Regions from separate parts of the Homo sapiens genome. Here regions 1, 2, 4, 5, 6 and 7 are each linked to region 3. The links are contacts of gene promoters, found by promoter capture Hi-C in blood cells and fetal thymus (Javierre and others, 2016). All regions are on one chromosome and are shown on one strand. Each heading gives the region's core, a stretch centred on a gene start or on the middle of the fragment in contact. The rest is flanking DNA. Distances are from core to core; before and after follow the strand shown.

Region 1 (2,813 bases), core at 186-2,685, 460 kb after region 3:
AAAATATGGGTAAGTGCGCGCTTTATGTTCTGATCATGTTCATTGGTTGTTGTTGACCCCTAAACATGCATCTTCTAGCATCATTCATTTAAAAACCTTAATGTCAGTGAGTTCCCATAATCTGTTCTGTGTTTTTTGAAGAGTTACAATTGATGGACACCAGAATCCCTAGATTCCAGCAGCTGTTCCTTACTCTGAGACCCTTTTATTGTGTGGAATATGAGAAAATGTGGGCAGAGCCTTGGGGGCTCAAGTGGTTGAGCAAGCAGAGCTGGGCTGACTCCAAGGCTGGCAGGTGGAGAAGGTCTTGGCAGGAGCAGCATAGGTGGCTCTCTCATGTTGATCATCTAAGTATCTGTATGTGTCCTTAGCACTTAGATCTTTCCTGAGGAGAGGTAGTCGGGGAGGACATTGGCTCCAGAGTGCCTTGTTTTACTAGCCATTCACTGCCCTCTTTTTCTAATCCTTCATTGTTTCAGATGACAACATTGATGAGACATACGGTGTGAATGTGCAGTTTGAGTCTGATGAGGAGGTGAGTGATAAACATACCCAGTCCATTCTTGTTTTTGACGTTGATTAAGGTAAAGGGACCCCTTCTAGTGTAAACAAGCTCTCTAGTTTAAACCAGATAAATTTTATGGTGTTGTATGGGTTTCAGACTTGGGCATTATATGTTCTTTTGCTTAAAAAAAAGTGCAGTTATCTTTTAACTTTGCTACCGCAAATTTAAACTAACAAATGTAAAGCAATATAATTTTTTTTTTTTTGAGACGGAGTCTTCTCTGTCGCCCAGGCTGGAGTGCAGTGGTGCGATCTCGGCTCACTGCAAGCTCTGCCTCCCAGGTTTCGCGCCATTCTCCTGCCTCAGCCTCCCGAGCAGCTGGGACTATAGGCGCCCGCCACCATGCCCGGCTAATTTTTTATATTTTTAGTGGAGACGGGGTTTCACCGTGTTAGCCAAGGTGGTCTTGATCTCCTGACCTCAGGTGATCCGCCCCCCGTCGGCCTCCCAAAGTGCTGGGATTACGGGTGTGAGCCACTGCGCCCGGCCACAATATAATTATTTAAAATATACCAAGTGGATCAGCAAAAAGAAAGAAAAAAGTTAAAGTACAGTGTATACTTTCATTGAGAATGTATCTGCTATGTTTTACTGCATTTTAACCTTATTACAGTATTTTCCCATTTTTCATTACTGTATCTGACTAAAAGATTGCACATTTGCCCTAGAGCACAGACATAGTTTGTACATGGTTAAGTCACTGGGGTTAATGTTTACTGTCTAATAGAATTCCTTGAATATAACTAAATAGGAATAAGTGGGGTACTTTGAGAAAATTACAGTGCCTTAGAGTTCTCAGTGAGTAGAAGTGGCTCCTGAAAGGGAAAATGGAGCCCCGGTATATATACCAAGGCTGGAAGAAGGGGTCGCACGGGGAGAGTCAGAGGACTAGGAGCCAAGACTTCTGAGTTTGAGTCCTGTATCTTGGCAGGTCATCTTGCTTCAGTTTCTCCTTCTATAAAATGAGGCCATTTCAATAGGTGATTGCTAAGCCTCTTCCTACAGTATAGTTAATAGGATTTGATGATTTTAAGTAGCAACAAACTGCTTTGCTTTTAGCAGTTCATTCATTTAACAGTGCTCATTATTGAAGTACCTGTTTTGACTGTGACACTATGCCAGGTACGCCTAATGTGCAGTGTATGAGTAAATAGAGTGGTGAGCAGGCTAAGTGCGATCTCTTCATTCCGGAGTCACCACCTGCTTTCCCAGGCATGCCTCTGTATAGCTCTTTTCTCCTTAGCTGATCACTGTTTTTGAGTGTTGATTGTGTGTGTATTAGAGAGAGGCTATGATCCAGTTGATTGCCATTGTAGCAGCCTAAGGTGAGAAATAGAAAGTAGATATATCTAATAAGTCGTGCTAAGCAGTCATTCTATGTCCACTGGAATAAGGCTGACCTTGGTTCCAATAGGCTCTCGGTTTCACCCCAAAGCCATTTCTCTACCCATTGAGCTAATTTAGGGTGACTTGAGGGAGAGGTTCTGTGGTGATGCAGGATCAGCTCCAGATCATGGTTGAGTTGGGGTCATTTCCACAGGAAGGTGATGAAGACGTATACGGGGAGGTTCGAGAAGAGGCATCTGATGATGACATGGAAGGGGACGAGGCTGTCGTGCGCTGCACCCTCTCGGCTAATGTAAGTTCAGTTTGCTCTTCCTCATTGCTACAAGGTTACTTCTGGGTGTTAGTGCTTCTTCCCCATGCCTAGGTCCTGTTACATTTATTGAGCCACTTTTTGCTGGAGTGAACTATAATAAACACTTAGTGTCTAGAGTTTCTTAAAATTTCTGTCGGTTTTCTTCCTTCCCAAAGATGTATGTTGATGAAATCTTAGTCTGGTGTGCTTCTGAACTCAATATTCCAGAGTTTTTTCCTCTGGAAAGTCCTCACAAGAAGGTGGGCTATGGATTGTCAAGTAGAACTTGGTTGCAGGGTGGTGGCAAAGTGATCGAGGCTGGCAGAGACCTGGTGAGCTAAATGCCTGGTTACTTTTATAGCTCGTAGCCTCAGGTGAACTGATGAGTTCCAAGAAGAAGGATTTGCACCCTCGGGATATTGATGCATTTTGGCTGCAGCGGCAGCTCAGTCGTTTCTATGATGATGCCATCGTGTCGCAGAAGAAGGCAGATGAAGTATTGGAGATTTTGAAGGTATGGCCAAGATGACAATAGTTGTATATTTAGTGTATCTTAGCACATGGGGACAGCGTATGAAGTGGCAGATGGCTTTGGCCTTAATGGTGGTG
Region 2 (2,751 bases), core at 119-2,618, 440 kb after region 3:
GCCAAGAACAGCAGGCTTATCACAGCCATGGAGGCCTCTGCATCTGGAGAAGTAGGAGAGTAGGAGTCAGTGGTCATCTTCCAGACTTATCTGCTCTCTAGCTCACATTCCCCAGAGCCCTGGTACCCCAAATTCTGAAAATCAGCTACTCAGGAGGAACAGAAAGCCCACAGAGCTTGGCTTGGACACAGCAAGGGTGGTCGGCCTGGGAGGAGGTTCGAGAGAAAAGAGGGCGAAAGGATGTGCCACTCAGTCTCTCTCCTGCTTTCCTTCCACATGGTGTGGGTGGTATTTAGGCTTCCAGAAAGTGTACATGGGACTGTTTTCATTCCTGTGTAGGATGGGGAGGGGGACCCTTGTGGTAGGGTGGCCTCACCCGACTCCTCAGTCAACCATGGGCACCAGATATGACCTGCTGATCCCAGAGGCTCCCTTTTATAGCCAGAAAGCCCTGAACCTGCCTGGGTGACACCTTTCCTCTGCCCCGGCAGCCAGTTGTAGCATTCCACTTCCTCTGTGACTTCACAGTCTTCATTCTGCTCACCCAGTATGAAGTGAGCCTCATCACTCAGCCTCTCCCTCTCTGCCCAGGGAGCGCAAGAGAGGCACAGTGCCGCCAGCTGCTTGCTACGGTGCCCTCTCTGCTCCTAAGGGGCTAGTGGATACCCCGTGTGTGGGCAGGCTAGCTTCACTTCTTAGTTCAGAAAACTGTCTGCAGAACCAGGTGCCCAAGGCCTACCTGACAGCCGGCAGTGGTCAGTTCCACTGCCTCCCCACCCACCCGTGAAGCCCGAGCTTCTGCCACTCACCCTAATTCACAAGCTACCGCGCTTACCAACATTCATGAAGGACTATGCCGTGTGGACGCTGAAGCCAGCTGGGCCTATCCTCCCTTTGGAACTTGGCCTTGCTTCGTCTCCCCGCCCTCTCTAGGAGCCCTGTTAAAATGTACAAGGTACCTGGGGGCTTTGGCTCAAATCGGAACCCGACCCTCCCCCCATTCATAACTTCCCCAAATTCCACGCCCAGAGATTTGTACTCTCACCCGCCTATCCGTAGGAGGCCAAGGGCCCATCCTACCTCGGGATGTCTCCCGGGACCCAGGGCCAGGTTACTCACCGTCAGTGTTAGTAGGAACACGATCTTAAAGAGACAGCGCGGCCTGACCGCCACTGCTTTTTTCCCGGCAGGGTGGGGGCGTCCGGTTCATCGCTGGGGCCGCCCGCGGGAGTGGCCCTGCTCCCCTTTCCTGGGTTATAGACCATGCTTGTCCGAGCGTCTGAACGTCTGGCTGAGCGCGGTGGGCCCCTACGACCCCCAGCACGCGGCTCCGAGGGCGCCCGCGCGCCGCAGCCGCTCCCGCCGTCCGGGCTCCTCCCCGCCCACCCAGTACAAGCTCCTCCCCGCCCAAACCCCCGTGGCCCAGCGTGCAGGGGCAGCGGCCTCCCCACACCGGGTCTCTGTCCGCACCGAGGCCCCCGTGGGTTTGCTGGGAGAGTGGAGGGGCCGTGGCCACACACTCTCCGCTGCTCGGCCTCCCTGGGGTGGCAAATGGGGCACCGCCGTGCCTGCTGTCAGCTGCACTCAGCTCAGTTCAGTGGAGAACAGACTTACTAGGATTCGGGTGTAAGGATGATGGTGGCAAAACTAGGAATTGACCGAGAAAAGCCATTCTCACTTCGGGCTGGCCCTGAGCAAAATGGCACACGAAATAAGATGTGGTTTCAGCACCCTAAATGTGCTTCCCTCCCAGCCCACGCCCAGACTCAGGCATCTTTCCCCAACCCCTTTCTCATATCAAAGTGACTCTCATGAAAGAACAGACAGCACCCAAAGACCTTACTTGGGGCCTTGCTTGCTACTCACTGGCCACGTGGGAGTAAGAATCCTACCTACAGGGCAGCTCTGCTGATACATGGGTGTATAAAGGAGAACTTTATACGGTGTGGAGGCTGGACAAGCTTTATCACACCTTAAGAAACACAACAGAATGGGTTTCCTGAAAGGGATCTTCAGATATCAGAAAGAGCCCTTAGTCTTCCTGTCTTGTGTCAGCTATCCAAGAAGAAAAGGAAGTGATGACCCCTTGATACTAACTCACTAAAATCCCTCTGCTGAAAGACAAGTTTCAGGGTTTTTATTTGTTTGTTTGTTTTTGAGAAAGAGTTTCGCTCTGTCACCCAGGCTGGAGTGTAGTGGCACCATCTTGGCTCACTGCAGCCTACCCGCCCCAGGTTCCAGTGATTCTCCTGCCTCAGCCTACTGAGTAGCTGGGACCACAGGTGTATGCCACCATGTCCAGCTAATTTTTGTATTTTTAGTAAAGACGGGGTTTCACCATGTTGGCCATGCTGGTCTCGAACTCCTGACCTCAGGTGATCTGCCCGCCTCGGCCTCCCAAAATGCTGGGATTATATGTGTAAGCCATCACACATGGCTGGGTTTCAGGTCTTCTTATCCAGTGGCAATGTGTAGGGAGCTCCCAAACAACTTGTACAATACTTCCAAGAATACTGACTTATTTAATTGTGGAGCAGGAAAAACTGTCTGCTAGCTGACAATGACTGAAGTTCCAAAGTTACTTTTTATAAATGTGAATTATGAAAAATAGATCACAGGTTATTGAGCATTCATGCATTTGGAGCAGTAATAATGAAAGTCTCTTATCTTTTCACTTATGACATGATGTCAGGATGCAAAATATATGCTTCAGAGTGTGCAAAAACGATAATGTTTAAGACCATGTGTTTT
Region 3 (2,805 bases), core at 32-2,531:
TGAAGTCCAGGATGGCATCGCTGCGGATCATGAAGCAGTCCTGGAGCTGGGTCATGATATCCTCTACAGTTTTGGTCCGTAGTTCCAGGGCACCCTGGATCATATTGAGCTCCTCTTTCACGAGGTCATTATAGGGCTCCGTCACCTTCAACATCTCCATCAGCTTCTCCCGGTTGTAAACAGTGCGAATCTCCTGGCCCAGAAAAAAGTCCAGGAGCTTGCTAATGGGAAAACTGAGGGGGAAGGTGAGTAGCATAAAGAATTTGGTGAGAAGGATGGTGTTGGCACCCACAGCCAGCCCATGTCGGGAGCACAGGGCCTGAGGTAGGATCTCCCCAAAGATGACAATGCCAATGGTGGAGGAGGCCACCGCCATGAGGCCGGACCCGATGAGGTTGTCTAGAAGGATTGTGAGGGAGGTGTTGACCAGCACGTTCCCTAGGAGCAACGAGCAGAGAAGGTAGTTGCCCTTGCGCCGGATGGGCTCAATCTTGCGGGCATAGCGCCTCTCCTTCTCGGTGCCACAGTTCTGCACGATGCGCAGCTCCATGGGGTCCAGGGCCATAAGCCCGAGGTTGAGGCCAGAAAATATGCCCGACAGCACCAGCAGCACCGTAATTAGGAGAATGTGCAGCCAGAGAGGCAGGAACCTCCCAGGCTCCTCCACCATGAAGAGCAGTGAGTCCTTGTCCGTCCACTTCAGCCAGGGCCCGTCGGGCTGGGCCCGGGTGCACAGTGCATACAGCTTCATGCTCTCGCTCCTCCGGAGGAACTTGGTGAGCACCACCAGCACGCCGGACGTGTTCCCGCGGCTCACGTTGACCAGCTGCTGGACGACCAGGTCCTTGGTGAGCTCGAGGCAGCTGGTGGACTTGTGGAGGGTCTCGGCATCGTCCACCTCGGTGAAGGAGATCAGGTTGCTGGAGATGTTGCCCAGGCTGTAGCCGTACAGCCTCAGGTTCACGGTGCTGCCCTCGGACACGAAGATGATGCCATCCGGGTTCGTCCCACACGACTTGTTGCAGCTCGCCAGCCTCATGCCCACGATCGTGCCCTGCTGGGGGCTGCCCTGGCCCCGGGCCCCCAGCGCCCACAGCAGCACCAGCAGCACCGGCGCCGCCAGGAGGAGGCGCCCGCGGGCCGGTCCGCCGACCGGGCGCCCGCCCCCGCCCACCGGCGCCATGTTGCTCTGGCTCTGCCGCCGCCGCCGCTCCCCGCGCCACGCCGCGCGGCCCCGGTCCGCACCGCAGCTCCGGCCGCTCCGCTGCCGCCGAGCCAACTGCCCGGGCCGCGAGCCTGACGTCAGGTCAGCGCCCCGCCCGCCCCGCCCCGCCTGCCCACGCCCCTCATTTGCATTGGAGGCCCCGCCCCCGGGGCTCGCTGCTTGAGCGCCCGCCCTTAAGGGGGTACAGTCGCTTAAGGTGGAGCAGCGCCGCCGCGCGAGAGCCGCCAGCGGGTACCCGCCCAGTGCTCCGCCTCCGCGCCCTTCCCCGCCTTTCTCTGCCAGTGGGGCCAGCTCTCCTTCTCCGGGACCTGGTCTCCTAGCTACGCCGTTCCTGTTCCTCGGCCTCGCACGGCCGCACGTGGGAGGCTCCTCTCCCGTCCCTCACCTGCAGCTAGGGGTGGCCCGCTCTGCAGGCAGGGCGAGAAAAGTGCTTTTCCTGATGTAGAAAAAGAAAAAGGAAACCTGAGGGCTTAGGCTGGCATTGCAGCCTGCCCCTTGGAGACTTTTCTGGCCTCCTCACTGCTGAGATTTTTGCCGACCTTGTCCTAAGGCCAGAAGTAGGTTACCCCAGCCCCAGCCCCAGCCCGACGATGCTTCCATCAACCAGTGGCTGCCTGATGTGGAAGGCAAATCTGGGGAACTAAGGTTATAGAAGGGGCAGGCTCTGGCCTAGACTTCTCTCCTGTCTCTTCCATTTAGGCATAGATATTTATTGAACACCTACTTTGTACCAGGCACTTGTTCTAGGCTCTGACAATAGAGCAGTGAACAAGCCAAAGTCGCTGCCCATTGGGGTTTACAGTCTAGAACAGAAAACAGGAGATAAACAAGTAAACACATATATTCATTAAATCCCCCCAACAACCCTCAGAGTTAGTAGAATTATTTCCATTTAGAGATGCAGAAATTGAGCCGAGACAAAAATCCTGGTGCCTCCATACTGTCATCTCCCAGCCCATTTCTCCATCTGTAAATGGGGGTAAGAATGACAGAGCATTACTTCGCTAAGCTTGCGGGATTGTGGACCTAGACATTGAACATGACAGGACAGCTCTTTAGAATATTCTTTGGCTAGGTAGTAGTTGTTGCTACCTGCCTTCCAGGACCAAACTCCTAACCCCAAATTGTGGTGATTGATCAGCTGGGCAGCTGCTTGTGGACATGAGCAGGCAGGCGCGGCAGTGGGCCTATCCCTGAAATGACTGCTTCCTGAATGGCCCTAGCCCTGTGTCAGTAGGGTGTATAAGGAAGACCACAGCTGCCCGCCCTGTGAGGGGGAAGAAGACAGACAGATAAACATCCTTACAATAATTGCACAGGTGCACAGAGAAGATCAGGTACTGGGTTGACCACCAGGTCTCACAGCAAATCTTTTGCCAGTACTGAAGACACAGAACCCACTTTACTCCCTTCCCGCACTGACACTTGTATTTATTTTCATTTTGGTGTAATGTTTGCTAATAAAAGCAGCAATCAGTACCAAACGGAAGGAGCCTAAACAGAAAGGATCACACAATGTTGTGGGAGGAGGTGTGGTAGCAGAGAGGCCCTGACTCAAGAAAGCCCTGTTAGCTGGGATT
Region 4 (2,777 bases), core at 161-2,660, 500 kb after region 3:
ATAGATGAGAGAACAGAGGTCCAGCGCACTCAAGGGACTTGCTCAAAGTAACACAGTCTCTGCTAGAGCTAGGATTCGGCGCCAGGTCCCAAGCCTTTCCGGTGTCCTGACCACTTCCTAGAGCAGGCTCTGATGGTTGCAATGCTGCAGGAGCTTAGACACCATGCCTGGCAGGTTTTGCCCAATAATTCCCCATGTGAGGACTTAATGACCCAAACCTTTTTTGCTTCTTAGAGAGATTTCATTGCTTCAAGCTGTTCCTCTAGTGAGCTTAGCAGCTGGCTCTGAGGATGGCTCCAACAGTATTCCTGTTAGCTTCTGACCCCTCATTCACGCACAACTCTTTAGGAATTGATTGATTATCTCCAGGGAAAAATACAGTGGCCGAGTCTGGTACTTAGTGATTCCGAGCAGCACAGTGTAGGGGAGCCTGATCATGGTTTGGAATCTAGCTCTGCAGCGTGTGGCCTGGAGGAAGCCACTTCACCTTCTGGAGCCCCCGACTCCTCATCTGAGCTGTGTGGTAAATCCCCCAGGGGGGCACTTCACCCATCTGTGTGCACAGGCTGTTCCAGGAGGGGTATACAAGGCCCCTCCAACAATATTTGCCTTTGGAGAGGAGCAGGTGGACATCCGCAAGGGGAGGGATGTCCTCTTGGAAGCTTTTTATCATGTGCATGTCTCCTTACTAGTAAAATTCATGTATAATGAAACATAAGACAATAGGAGTATATGTCATGGATGTACATTTTTAAGGATAATCAAATGAACATCCTTGTGCTCACCATCCAGCCAAAGAAACAATACAGGCTCCTTGAAGCCTGCACATATTACTTTTCTTACTCCAACTGCCTGGCCTCATCAGTAATGTGAGTGGAATCTGACACGGCCTACTGCAGAGCGGCATGTGACCTCTGGTAGGTTATTCTTGGAAGCACTATAAGAACACTGCCCCATCCCTGCCACATGCCACGTGGACCCCAAGAAGAACTCTCTTAGCTTTTAATAAGATTTAAAATACAGCCAGGAGATAGCCCCTGTCTCCTAGAGCTTTTCTTTCAGTGAGGCCCCATGCACTATGGCTCTGCAGGGCTGGGTTCAATGAAGGCTGGTCCCAGTTGCTGGCAGGGTTCACACACAGGCAGGCTTTCTGGCAGTAGACAGTTACCCAGGCTGGATGCTTGGGCCCAAAACAGATGGTCAGCAGACAAGAGATCATGACAGATAGTTCTGAGGGCTGCTTCGTGGGTGACCCAAAGCCAGACAGAGGTGTATGAGCCTTGTCTGGGCCCAGCCAGCCTCTGCTGGGCGAACTCTGAGCCTGAGGCAGGGTATGCGTGCTCAATCCTAGAGGCTCAGGGCTTCTCTCTACCCAGAACCTGTGATGCTGGCATCTGTTGGGCTGAGTCAGCTTTGCTGGGTTTAGGTCCCCTCCCCAGGTTCCTGGACTTTCCCCCATCAGTCCACCTTCCTCTGAGGTCTGGAACCAGTGTTTCTTGAAGTGTGGGGCTTGGATCACCTGCATGGGGATTACCTGGGCTGCTTGTTAAAATCCAGATTCCTAGGCCCTGCTCCAGACCTAGAACTCGGACTCTCTGGGGACCTGGGAACACGCTTTCAGCCAGTGCCACAGTGATTTGGGTATGCCCTAGAGATTGATGATCACACCCCACACCCTCTCAGCCTGAGATCAAGTTCAGGAAAGGACGCTATATAGCCTGAGTCTTGCCAGCCCTTTCCAAATTTTCCTAAATCACTTGGTGACCCATGGCCTAAATAAAAGAAGAACTTGCCAGTGGCTGTAACAGAAGAAGGAGAGGAAGTTAAGGCCCATTTCCTACTTTTTTTTTTGAGGCGGAGTCACTCTGTCACCAAGGCTGGAGTGCAGTGATGTGATCTTGGCTCACTGTAACCTCCACCTCCCAGGTTCAAGCAGTTCTCCTGTCTCAGCCTCCTGAGTAGCTGGGACTACAGGTGCACGCCACCATACCTGGCTGATTTTTTAAATTTTTAGTAGAGACAGGGTTTCACCATATTGGTCAGGCTGGTCTCAAACTGCTGACCTCAGGCGATCCACCCACCTCGGCCTCCCAAAGTGCTGGGATTACAGGCGTGAGCCACCATGCCCGACCCCATTTCTACTTTTTATGAAAGCTTAAAATACTTAATCATGGCCTGGTTTCTTTTTGGTTCAGCCTTTATTCTACCCTATGCTTCTGGGAGCTTTTGCAGTTTGCATAGTTATCAAAGGAGACAGACAGTATCATCTAGTTTTTTGTTTTTTTGTTTTGTTTTTTGTTTTTGAGATGGAGTCTCGCTCTGTCGCCAGGCTGGAGTGCAGTGACACGATGTCGGCTCACTGCAACCTCCGTCTCCAGGGTTCAAGCGATTCTCCTGCCTCAGCCCCCCGAGTAGCTGGGACTACAGGCGCGCGCCACCACGGCCGGCTAATTTTTGTATTTTTAGTAGAGACGGGGTTTCACCATGTTGGCCACGCTGATGTCGAACTCCTGACCTCAGGTGATCCACCCGCCTCGGCCTCCCAAAGTGCCAGGATTATAGGCGTGAGCCACTGTGCCTGGTAGTGTCGTCTAGTTGAAATGTTTTTTTAAAGAATGGCTAAAGTACTGGAGGGAAATACAAGTTGCTGTGTGTCTGCTGCGTGGTTGTTGTCATGGGCTCTCCCTGCACCATGACCCCCAGGAACCCCTTGAGTGCTGTGTCTTTTCTTTCAGCCTCTTCCTTTTCCTTCATTTATGCCCTTGACGTGTGCACGT
Region 5 (2,700 bases), core at 56-2,555, 410 kb after region 3:
ATCTCTACTAAAAATACAAAAAAATTTAGCTGGGCGTGGTGGTGCGTCCCAGCTACATGGGAGGCTGAGGCACGAGAATCGTTTGAACCGGGGAGACAGAGGTTGCGGTGAGCCAACATCGTGCCACTGCACTCCAGCCTGGGCCACAGAGCGAGACCCTGTCTCAAAAAAAAATAATAATAATAATGACAGTAAGATAAATTCCAGATTATCTGGGAAGGGGAAAAAACAAGGAGAATTGGGGGAGGGAAGGGAACGTAGAAAGGGCTTTCTGGATCCCTATGACTAATAAATAATACCACTTCAGATGTGTGTAGCATATCACCATGTTTAAAGACCTTGACATAGGCCAGGTGCGGTGACTCACACCTGTAATCCCAGCACTTTGGGAGGCCGAGGCGGGCGGCGGATCACAAGGTCAGAAGATCAAGACCATCCTGGCTAACACGGTGAAACCCCGTCTCTCCTAAAAATACAAAAAATTAGCCGGGCATGGTGGCGGGTGCCTGTAGTCCCAGCTACTCTGGAGGCTGAGGCAGGAGAATGGCGTGAACCCGGGAGGTGGAGCTTGCAGTGAGCTGAGATAGCGCCACTGCACTCCAGCCTGGGCGACGGAGCAAGACTCCATCTCAAAAAAAAAAAAAAAAAGAGAGAGACCTTGGCATAAATGGATTCACTAATATAAAACCGAGATGTGGTTGGGGCCAGCGTTCCCCATTTTTTATAGTATATGACAGTGAGATTCACAACTCTTCCCAGGTCAACAGCTAAGCACCGCACCCGGCCTACGTCAAGGTCTTTAAACATGGTGATATGCTACACACATCACCCACGGTTAATGCTGACACACACATAAGGAAAAAATACAACTCCCTCTCCCCACAAGAGCCAGCTGCTCTCGCCTCTCCCCTCCCTCTTAGGCCTCATTCTCAGTGACTCTCCTTCCTCTGGCCCCTCCCTGCCCGTGCACAGCAATGCCCTGCTCACCTCACCACTCAGAGTGGGCATGGCAAGGCCCCACCTCCCTAGCCCCTTGCACACTCAGTCTTACCACTACCATCTGCTGTAAGAACACTGGCATTCATCTCACTGTTGCCCTTTATCTGGCTTATTTATTAATTACACAAAAAGACCCAAGACACCCACAATTCTACATTTCTTGGACTCTAAGATCTATAGAACTCTGATGCCACCTCCCACCCCACCACAGCCCCCATCTCCCACTCCTCCTCAAAAACTGGTATTTCCTCAGGGCCCTCTAGACTCAGTCATCAGCAAAATTCTCTCTATCGCCCACTTAGTTCCTGAGGATTATCTCCACCTACTTGTTCTAATTTATGTATTCTCAATGGTGTTCTCATTTCACTCTCAAGGGGTGAAAACTGTTTCCTAGAGGCTAGGTGGGAAAAATCTTAGATATTACAATAATGTTTGCCTATCCAAATCTCTACCCTATCTGACAAAATCTTATTCCTTAGTATTTCATTTTAAGGGGAAGGAGTAGGCACAAAATGTCTAAATGGGTCTGAAGGGGCAAAAGTGATAAAAAAAAAAAAAAAACAGGCTGAGGGGCACTGCTCCAATTGAGACATGGTGCCAGCCTGAGGATAGGCTTCCCCTGCGGGCCTCTGCAGTGGCTGCTTTCTCTTCACAGCCGTCAAACCAGTGGCCTACAGGTGGGCCAGGTGATTGCAGCATCCAACTATCCCCCCTCCCAATTTCTAATGCCCCAGCTCTGAGTACAACATCAGCTTTTGCCACTGTCTGCCCATCTGTGTTGCAGTCATCTTCCAATCCCCAGGTCACAACCTGTCCTTCTTCTCAGAAGATCTTAGTATTAGTTTATGGCTCATTACTAGTCTCCAAATTTATTCCTGGTGTAGCTCTTATTGATTTCAATATCCATATGTTGATCCATCCAGTACACTGTCTCTTGGTTGATATCCTCTCCTTCAATGGTCTCCATCCTAAGAAACCCAGGACTCCAAGACAGCCAAGTAAGACACCAAGACAGCCTAGTAAGACCCCTACCCCGCCTCCGCCATTTGCTCCCTTGCCTGCTCTGAGTTGACTCATTAACCATGACTGCAACCTCTCTATATCCTCAATTCTAGGGCCCCTCTCTGGCAACCACCTCCTACATTTCCAGCTCACCCCTTCTTGTCCCCAACACCACGAAGTCTTTGACCCCACCAGGCCTACAATCTACTGATTATATTACTTTCCACTGCCCTCATTCCCCTGTCTTCCGAGGTAAAATTCCCTAAGCAGTGAATGCAACCACACCTTTACACATGCACTCACCTCCTCCAGTGTCCCTTTCCAGCTGTGTCCATTCACTCAGCTCAACAGGATCCCATATTAAACCCAACTTTCTGCCTACTCCATGATTGTACCCACACAGCTATTCACGGCTGGACAGAGACACAAAATAATGCTGACTGACCTCACTTTATATCCATCTGCCACCACCCTCAAGTAGACCCTAAGTTGTCTAACAGTCACACCATATCTCCCTAGTTCATGTACTCGCCCACCTCCTAGAGGACTCTTTCCTACCCTTTCCCCTCCTCACGCCCCCAGTGCCTTCCTTCCCTATCCTCACTGTAAGCTGATGACCTGGCTTCCTGTTTTAAGACAGTATCCAGAAGGCTCCCCCATGAGTGCACCCAAACAACACCCGTCAGCCGAGCCCAACCT
Region 6 (2,730 bases), core at 118-2,617, 490 kb after region 3:
CTTACTGTGCTTCTGGGTGCTTGGTTTTTTACCACCAGAAAGAAATTCTGGTTCTCTTTATATGGGAGAATAATTGAAGGTTGATAGCAGAAACCAGATACTGTCATGTTTAATTCTGTAAACTAATTGTTTCAAGGCTCTGAGTAAAGACTGCTTTTAACTGGGACTCTTCGTCTTTGTGACAGCGGGGCAGCCCGTAGACAGGGCTGCAAGGCCTGCTGTGGATATCTCTGTGCACATTCAGCTCTGTGTTAAGCTTTTTCTTTTTTTTTGAGACGGAGTCTCGCTCTGTCGCCCAGGCTGGACTGCAGTGGCGCGATCTCGGCTCACTGCAAGCTCCGCCTCCCGGAATCACGCCATCCTCCTGCCTCAGCCTCCCGAGTAGCTGGGACTACAGGCACCCGCCACCATGCCCGGCTAATTTCTTTTTTGTATTTTTGGTAGAGACGGAGTTTCACCATGTTAGCCAGTATGGTCTCGATCTCCTGGCCTCGTGATCCACCCGCCTCGGCCTCCCAAAGTGCTGGGATTACAGGCGTGAGCCACCGCGCCCAGCCTAAGCTTTTTCTCATCTGGCAGATTTGCCTTGTACTTAAAAGTATCTCTAAGGAACTCAAAGCTCCTAGGCCCCAAAGACTAGACCTCTAATAGTAGTACCTTGGACTTAGTGGCAGGTACTAAGTGGGAGAAGGTACCTTGGCACAAGGAAATGAGCCAGAACCAACAAATGAATTCATCTACTTAAAAAATTAAGTCTGTTTGAGACAACTTTTGATAGTATTAAAATGTTAAATCTAATTGTATTTCGGGAAGAAACTTTGGAAAGCTATCTGATTTTTGTTCTCTCTTTTGTAACTGTACCATTTTCATGGTTGCCTATGGTCATCAAGTTTTACATGCTGAAATTCTTGGTTTTGGATCACTGCAGAAACGTGAAGAGGGCTGGTGGGTGGTGATTGGAGATGCCAAGTCCAATAGCCTCATCTCCATCAAGAGGCTGACCTTGCAGCAGAAGGCCAAGGTGAGTGTGTCCACTGGCCCTAGCATTTGTTCTGGCATGGGGGAAGGGTGAGAATGCTTCCTGTGTCCATGCTCATCTTGATTTCTGCCTGCTCTTTCTAGGTGAAGTTGGACTTTGTGGCCCCAGCCACTGGTGCCCACAACTACACTCTGTACTTCATGAGTGACGCTTACATGGGATGTGACCAGGAGTACAAATTCAGCGTGGATGTGAAAGAAGCTGAGACAGACAGTGATTCAGATTGAGTCCTGAGGCATTTACTTTTGGGTAAAGGAGAGTTGAGCCTGAATTAGGAATGTGTACATTGTAGGAATCCTGGTTGTGGGGACCAGGTCTGTGGGCCTCAGGTCTGGCCAGCCAGGGCTGGTGCTGTCCCCGCCTACCTCCACTTCCTTTCCCTTGCTCACTCTGGATCCAGTGACAGCAGGTGTCATGGGTCAAGCATAAATCATATATAGCATTTTCAGGCATGTTCCTGGTAGTTCTTTTGAGTCTGACATTCTAATAAAATAATTTGTAGAAACCATTTGTCTTTGTAGTGATTCCAAATTAAAAGTTTTCTTTCTCCAACCTGAGGGCACGGCCAAAAAGATCTGGTTATTTTTTAGCCAGGAACGTGCTTGTTAATGAGTATGTCTGGAGGACAGACCTGCTCATTAGGTGTGCTGTCCCCTGTAGCCTCGTGAGTCAGCCCAGAGGAGGGTACATGCGACTGTGGCCTGGCCTCAGTGGTACCCACACATCAGCACTACCACAAGAACCAACACTGAGCCTCGGAAGCTAGATCACAGGTTAGGGGTTTCTCTAGATGGGGGTTCTGAAATTTGCAGTGTCTGCTCCTGGGAGGCAGCACCAGAAAGGGCACTGAAATGTACTAGCTGGATGTGACCCAGTCTTAATAAACAGGTTTTCTAATCCAGATCTTCCGACTGTCTTCAAATTCTTACCTTCTGTTCTTTAGATTAAATGCACACAAAATTGAAAGATGATTCTGAAGGGCAGTTTCCTCAGGGTAGCAGTTTTCAAATGATTTGGTCTTAGGACCTCTTTACACTACTAAAAACTAAGAAACTCAGGTTTTTGTTTTTTTTTTTTTCTTTTTAAATAACAAATTTATTTTTCACAGTTCTGGAGGTTGCCCCAAAAAGCTTTTATTATCTAGATTAAGGTTAATGCACTTTTAAATCATAATGTTAACATTTTTTTTCTTAATAGAGACAGAGTTTAGCCATGTTGCCCAGGCTGACCTTGAATTCCTGAGCTCAAGTGATCCGCCCACCTCAGCCTCCCAGAGTGCTGGGATTACAGGCATGAGCCACCATGCCCAGCCCACGTTAACATTTTTTATGAAGAATAACTTCCAAAACAATCCAAGGAGAAGGGTGGCATTTTACAGTCTCTTTAGTATCTTGTTATAATAAACAGTTGAATTCTTACAGCTGCTTCTACATCCAAACTTTTTTGTTGAAGTAAGTTGACTTCACACAGATACGCAGTTGGAAAAGTTTTTAAAATAGCCTTTTCAGCTAATTGTGGCTATTCTTTGATACCACACCAAGACTACAAGTGATTTTTTTTTTTTTTTTTTTTTTTTGAAATGGAGTCTCGCTCTGTCACCCAGGCTGGAGTCCAGTGGCACGATCTCGACTCACTGCAACCTCCACCTCCCGGGTTCAAGCTATTCTCCTGCCTCAGCCTCCCGAGTAGCT
Region 7 (2,700 bases), core at 50-2,549, 370 kb after region 3:
TAAAAGTGTGTGGCATCTCCCCCACTGCACTCTCTTTCTCTTTTTTTTTTTTTTAAAAGACAGGATCTTGCTCTGTCACCCAGGCTGTGGTGCAGTGGCACAACCTTGACTCACTGCAACCCCCACCTTCCGGGTTCAAGTGATTCTCGTGCCTCAGCCTCCTGAATAGCTGGGATCACAGGTGCGCACCACCACGCCCAGCTAATTTTTGTATTTTTTGTAGTGACGTGGTTTAACCATGTTGGCCAGGCTGGTCTCAAACTCCTGACCTCAAGTGATCTGCCCACCTTGGCCTCCCAAAGTGCTGGGATTCCAGGTGTGAGCCACTGCACCTGGCCCCCTACTCTCTTTCTCTTGCTCCTGCTCTGCTATGTGAGATGTCTGCTCCTGCTTCATCTTCCACTGTGAGTAAAAGCTCCCTGAGGTCTCCCCAGAAGCTGAGCTGATGCCTGTGTCATGCTTCCTATAGGCTGCAGAACCATGAGCCAATTAAACCTCTTTATAAATTACCCAGTCTCAGGTATTACTTTTCAGCAATGCAAGATAATACACACACATGCAAGGGCTAATACACACACACAAACACACACACACACACGCAACTGGTGGAGAGTGACCATTTGGTAGAGGCAGGAGTTAAGTGAGCACGCCAACCCCCAAACCAACAGTGATAAATGTCATGGGAATGACACAGCGAAGGTTGCTGCCTAGGCATTAGAAGCAGAACCACACACCCAAATGGTTCAAGCAGGTGACCAGAGGTAAGAACTTAGAAGCAGCTCTCTCACCTAGCAGCTCCCCACTTTTCCTGCTGCTTCTGTTTAATGGACCATTCAGGCATTTGTGCATGAACTTAAGGTGACCCACATCCTATTTCCTTATCTATACTCCTGGGCTCTGATGAGCCTCCTTATACATACTGTCAGTTGCTGCCTCTCTCTCTGTCTCTCCCTTTCTTTCTCTCTCTCTCTCTCTCTCTTTCTGCCTGACCCTTTGTTCCTGCTTCGTGTGAGCCAGGGACAGGAGACATCCTCCTGACTCACTGTGCCTTCCCTGCCCAGGATCTGAAAGTAATAAATCTTTCAGCTTGTTTCTGATTATGGTGTACTGCGCCCTCCATCTGAAGAACCAGGGGCTACCCCAGGCGGAGTTTTCCCTGGGATGCCAGGGAGAACACAAGGTCAGGATCCTAGCATCAGAGCAATGGGCAGGCAGGACATGGGTCAGACAAGGGCCACCAGGTGTCTGCCAGTATAAACAAGTTTCCCAGTGAGGGACACCTGGTCATGGATCAGACAACTAAGCAGCAGGCTGTCCACAGTTAGAAGTAACGAAAGGCACAGTGTAAACACCCACATCCTGCTCCTGCTTATTTCGTGTTAGGGCGGTGTTGCTAGGCACTGTGGTACCGGACCCCCAATTTAGCTGGGGGCTTTCAAAACAGTAAAATACTGGATTTAAAAAAAATACTTAAAGGCCAGGTATGGTGGCTCACACCTGTAATCCTAACACTTTAGGAGGCCAAGGCAGAAGGATTCCTTGATGCTGGGAGTTCAAGACCAGTCTTGGCAACATAGAGAGACTCCATCTCTACAAAACTTTCTTTTTTTTTTTTTTAATAAGTTGGGCATAGTGGCATGTGCCTGTTGTCCTAGCTACTCCAAAAGCTGAGGCAGGAAGATCGCTTGAGCCCAGAGGTTCAAGATTACAATGAGCTATGATCATGCCACTGCACTCCAGCCTGGGCAACAGAGTGAGACTCTGTGTATTAAAAAAAAAAAAAAAATCAAAACAAAACAAAACAAAAACCCCAAACTTAAAGATACTGGAAATCAGACAGAAACCAGAAGAGTTTTATTTATTTTTTATTTTTTTCGAGACAGGATCTTGCTCTGTAGCCCCAGGCTGGAATGAATTGGTGCAAACACGGCTCATTGCAGCTTCGACCTCCTGGGCTTAGGTGATCCTCTCACCTCAGCCTCCTGAGTAGCTGGGACTACAGGCCCATGCCACCATGCCTGGCTAATTTTTGTATTTTTTGTAGAGATGAGGTCTCGCCACAATGCCCAGGCTGGTCTTGAACTTTTGGGCTCAAGTGATCCTCTGGCCTCAAAGTGATCCTCTGGCCTCAAGCTCCCAAAGTGCTGGGATTACAGGCATAAGCCACTGCACTCAGCCATAGTTGTTTTTTGTTTTTTGAGACAGGGTCTGGCTTTGTCGCCCGGGCTGAAGTGCAGTGGCACAATTGCAACTCACTGTAGCCTTGACCTCCTGGGCTCAAGCCATCCTTCCACCTCAGCCTCCCAAGTAGCTATGACCACAGGCGTGTGACACCACGCCTGGAAAATTTATGTATTGATTGATTGATTTTTTTTCAGAGACAGGGTCTCACTGTTGCCTAGGCTGGTCTCAAATTCTTGGGCTTAAGTGATCCTACTGCCTCGGCCTCCCAAAGTGCTGGGATTACAGGCCTGAGCCACCACACCCTGCCTCAGAAGAGTTTTAAACTAAAACTAAAATCAAAACAAGCAAACAACAAGACAGTTCTGGGCATGAGCTGCTTTGCTCCACTGACAGTTCAGCTGTGCCTACGTGAAGCAAACCCCTCAGGGCCTGGTGAAAGAGTCTTCTCTTGAAAGACAGCTATGCAGAACAAGGGCTGTGGGTCTGATGCTCCTTGCCTCAAACACATGCATCTTG

The links. The method cuts DNA at HindIII sites, captures the fragments that hold promoters and counts their contacts. A CHiCAGO score of 5 or more calls a contact.
Region 1: a fragment that was not itself captured here is called in contact with the fragment with the promoter of CNNM4 in region 3 in 11 of 17 cell types (naive CD8 T cells, total CD8 T cells, naive CD4 T cells and 8 more); the score reaches 12.2 in naive CD8 T cells.
Region 2: a contact is called between the fragment with the promoter of ITPRIPL1 here and the fragment with the promoter of CNNM4 in region 3, in 17 of 17 cell types (M1 macrophages, erythroblasts, naive CD4 T cells and 14 more). The highest score is 15.9, in M1 macrophages.
Region 4: a fragment that was not itself captured here is called in contact with the fragment with the promoter of CNNM4 in region 3 in 3 of 17 cell types (naive CD4 T cells, total CD8 T cells and naive B cells); the score reaches 6.3 in naive CD4 T cells.
Region 5: a contact is called between a fragment that was not itself captured here and the fragment with the promoter of CNNM4 in region 3, in 10 of 17 cell types (total CD8 T cells, non-activated CD4 T cells, total CD4 T cells and 7 more). The highest score is 13.3, in total CD8 T cells.
Region 6: a fragment that was not itself captured here is called in contact with the fragment with the promoter of CNNM4 in region 3 in 5 of 17 cell types (non-activated CD4 T cells, naive CD4 T cells, total CD4 T cells and 2 more); the score reaches 7.2 in non-activated CD4 T cells.
Region 7: a contact is called between a fragment that was not itself captured here and the fragment with the promoter of CNNM4 in region 3, in 7 of 17 cell types (naive CD8 T cells, total CD4 T cells, non-activated CD4 T cells and 4 more). The highest score is 9.4, in naive CD8 T cells.

Annotation. Positions count from the first base shown.
Region 1 is chr2:96,298,720-96,301,532 of GRCh38, reverse strand. It overlaps SNRNP200 (small nuclear ribonucleoprotein U5 subunit 200), which reads left to right. Exons shown (of 45, transcript NM_014014.5): 4 at 1-9; 5 at 480-535; 6 at 2,106-2,204; 7 at 2,566-2,718. Among named protein-coding and RNA genes, the nearest start is that of SNRNP200, 5.4 kb to the left of the region's middle. The HindIII fragment of the contact is 9,589 bases long and covers 1-2,813 here.
Region 2 is chr2:96,323,934-96,326,684 of GRCh38, reverse strand. ITPRIPL1 (ITPRIP like 1) reads right to left here and starts at 1,368. Exons shown (of 3, transcript NM_001008949.3): 1 at 1,120-1,368; 2 at 836-938; 3 at 1-43. The coding sequence starts at 845. RefSeq lists an enhancer at 681-1,181 and a silencer at 1,204-1,453. The HindIII fragment of the contact is 6,653 bases long and covers 1-1,963 here.
Region 3 is chr2:96,759,378-96,762,182 of GRCh38, reverse strand. CNNM4 (cyclin and CBS domain divalent metal cation transport mediator 4) reads right to left here and starts at 1,281. Exons shown (of 7, transcript NM_020184.4): 1 at 1-1,281. The coding sequence starts at 1,183. RefSeq lists enhancers at 56-644, 524-773, 645-1,234, 1,794-1,843 and silencers at 737-920, 1,044-1,463. The HindIII fragment of the contact is 3,226 bases long and covers 1-2,236 here.
Region 4 is chr2:96,256,987-96,259,763 of GRCh38, reverse strand. The region is part of intron 2 of TMEM127 (transmembrane protein 127); the gene reads left to right. Among named protein-coding and RNA genes, the nearest start is that of TMEM127, 7.6 kb to the left of the region's middle. RefSeq lists enhancers at 1-163, 1-1,800. The HindIII fragment of the contact is 1,492 bases long and covers 665-2,156 here.
Region 5 is chr2:96,346,139-96,348,838 of GRCh38, reverse strand. All of the region lies in intron 6 of NCAPH (non-SMC condensin I complex subunit H), which reads right to left. Among named protein-coding and RNA genes, the nearest start is that of NCAPH, 12 kb to the right of the region's middle. The HindIII fragment of the contact is 3,449 bases long and covers 1-2,700 here.
Region 6 is chr2:96,273,548-96,276,277 of GRCh38, reverse strand. CIAO1 (cytosolic iron-sulfur assembly component 1) reads right to left here. Exons shown (of 7, transcript NM_004804.3): 7 at 2,105-2,730. SNRNP200 (small nuclear ribonucleoprotein U5 subunit 200) reads left to right here. Exons shown (of 45, transcript NM_014014.5): 44 at 929-1,021; 45 at 1,123-1,940. The coding sequence ends at 1,266. Among named protein-coding and RNA genes, the nearest start is that of CIAO1, 8.7 kb to the right of the region's middle. The HindIII fragment of the contact is 1,608 bases long and covers 564-2,171 here.
Region 7 is chr2:96,389,989-96,392,688 of GRCh38, reverse strand. No RefSeq gene overlaps it. Among named protein-coding and RNA genes, the nearest start is that of NCAPH, 56 kb to the right of the region's middle. The HindIII fragment of the contact is 6,592 bases long and covers 1-2,700 here.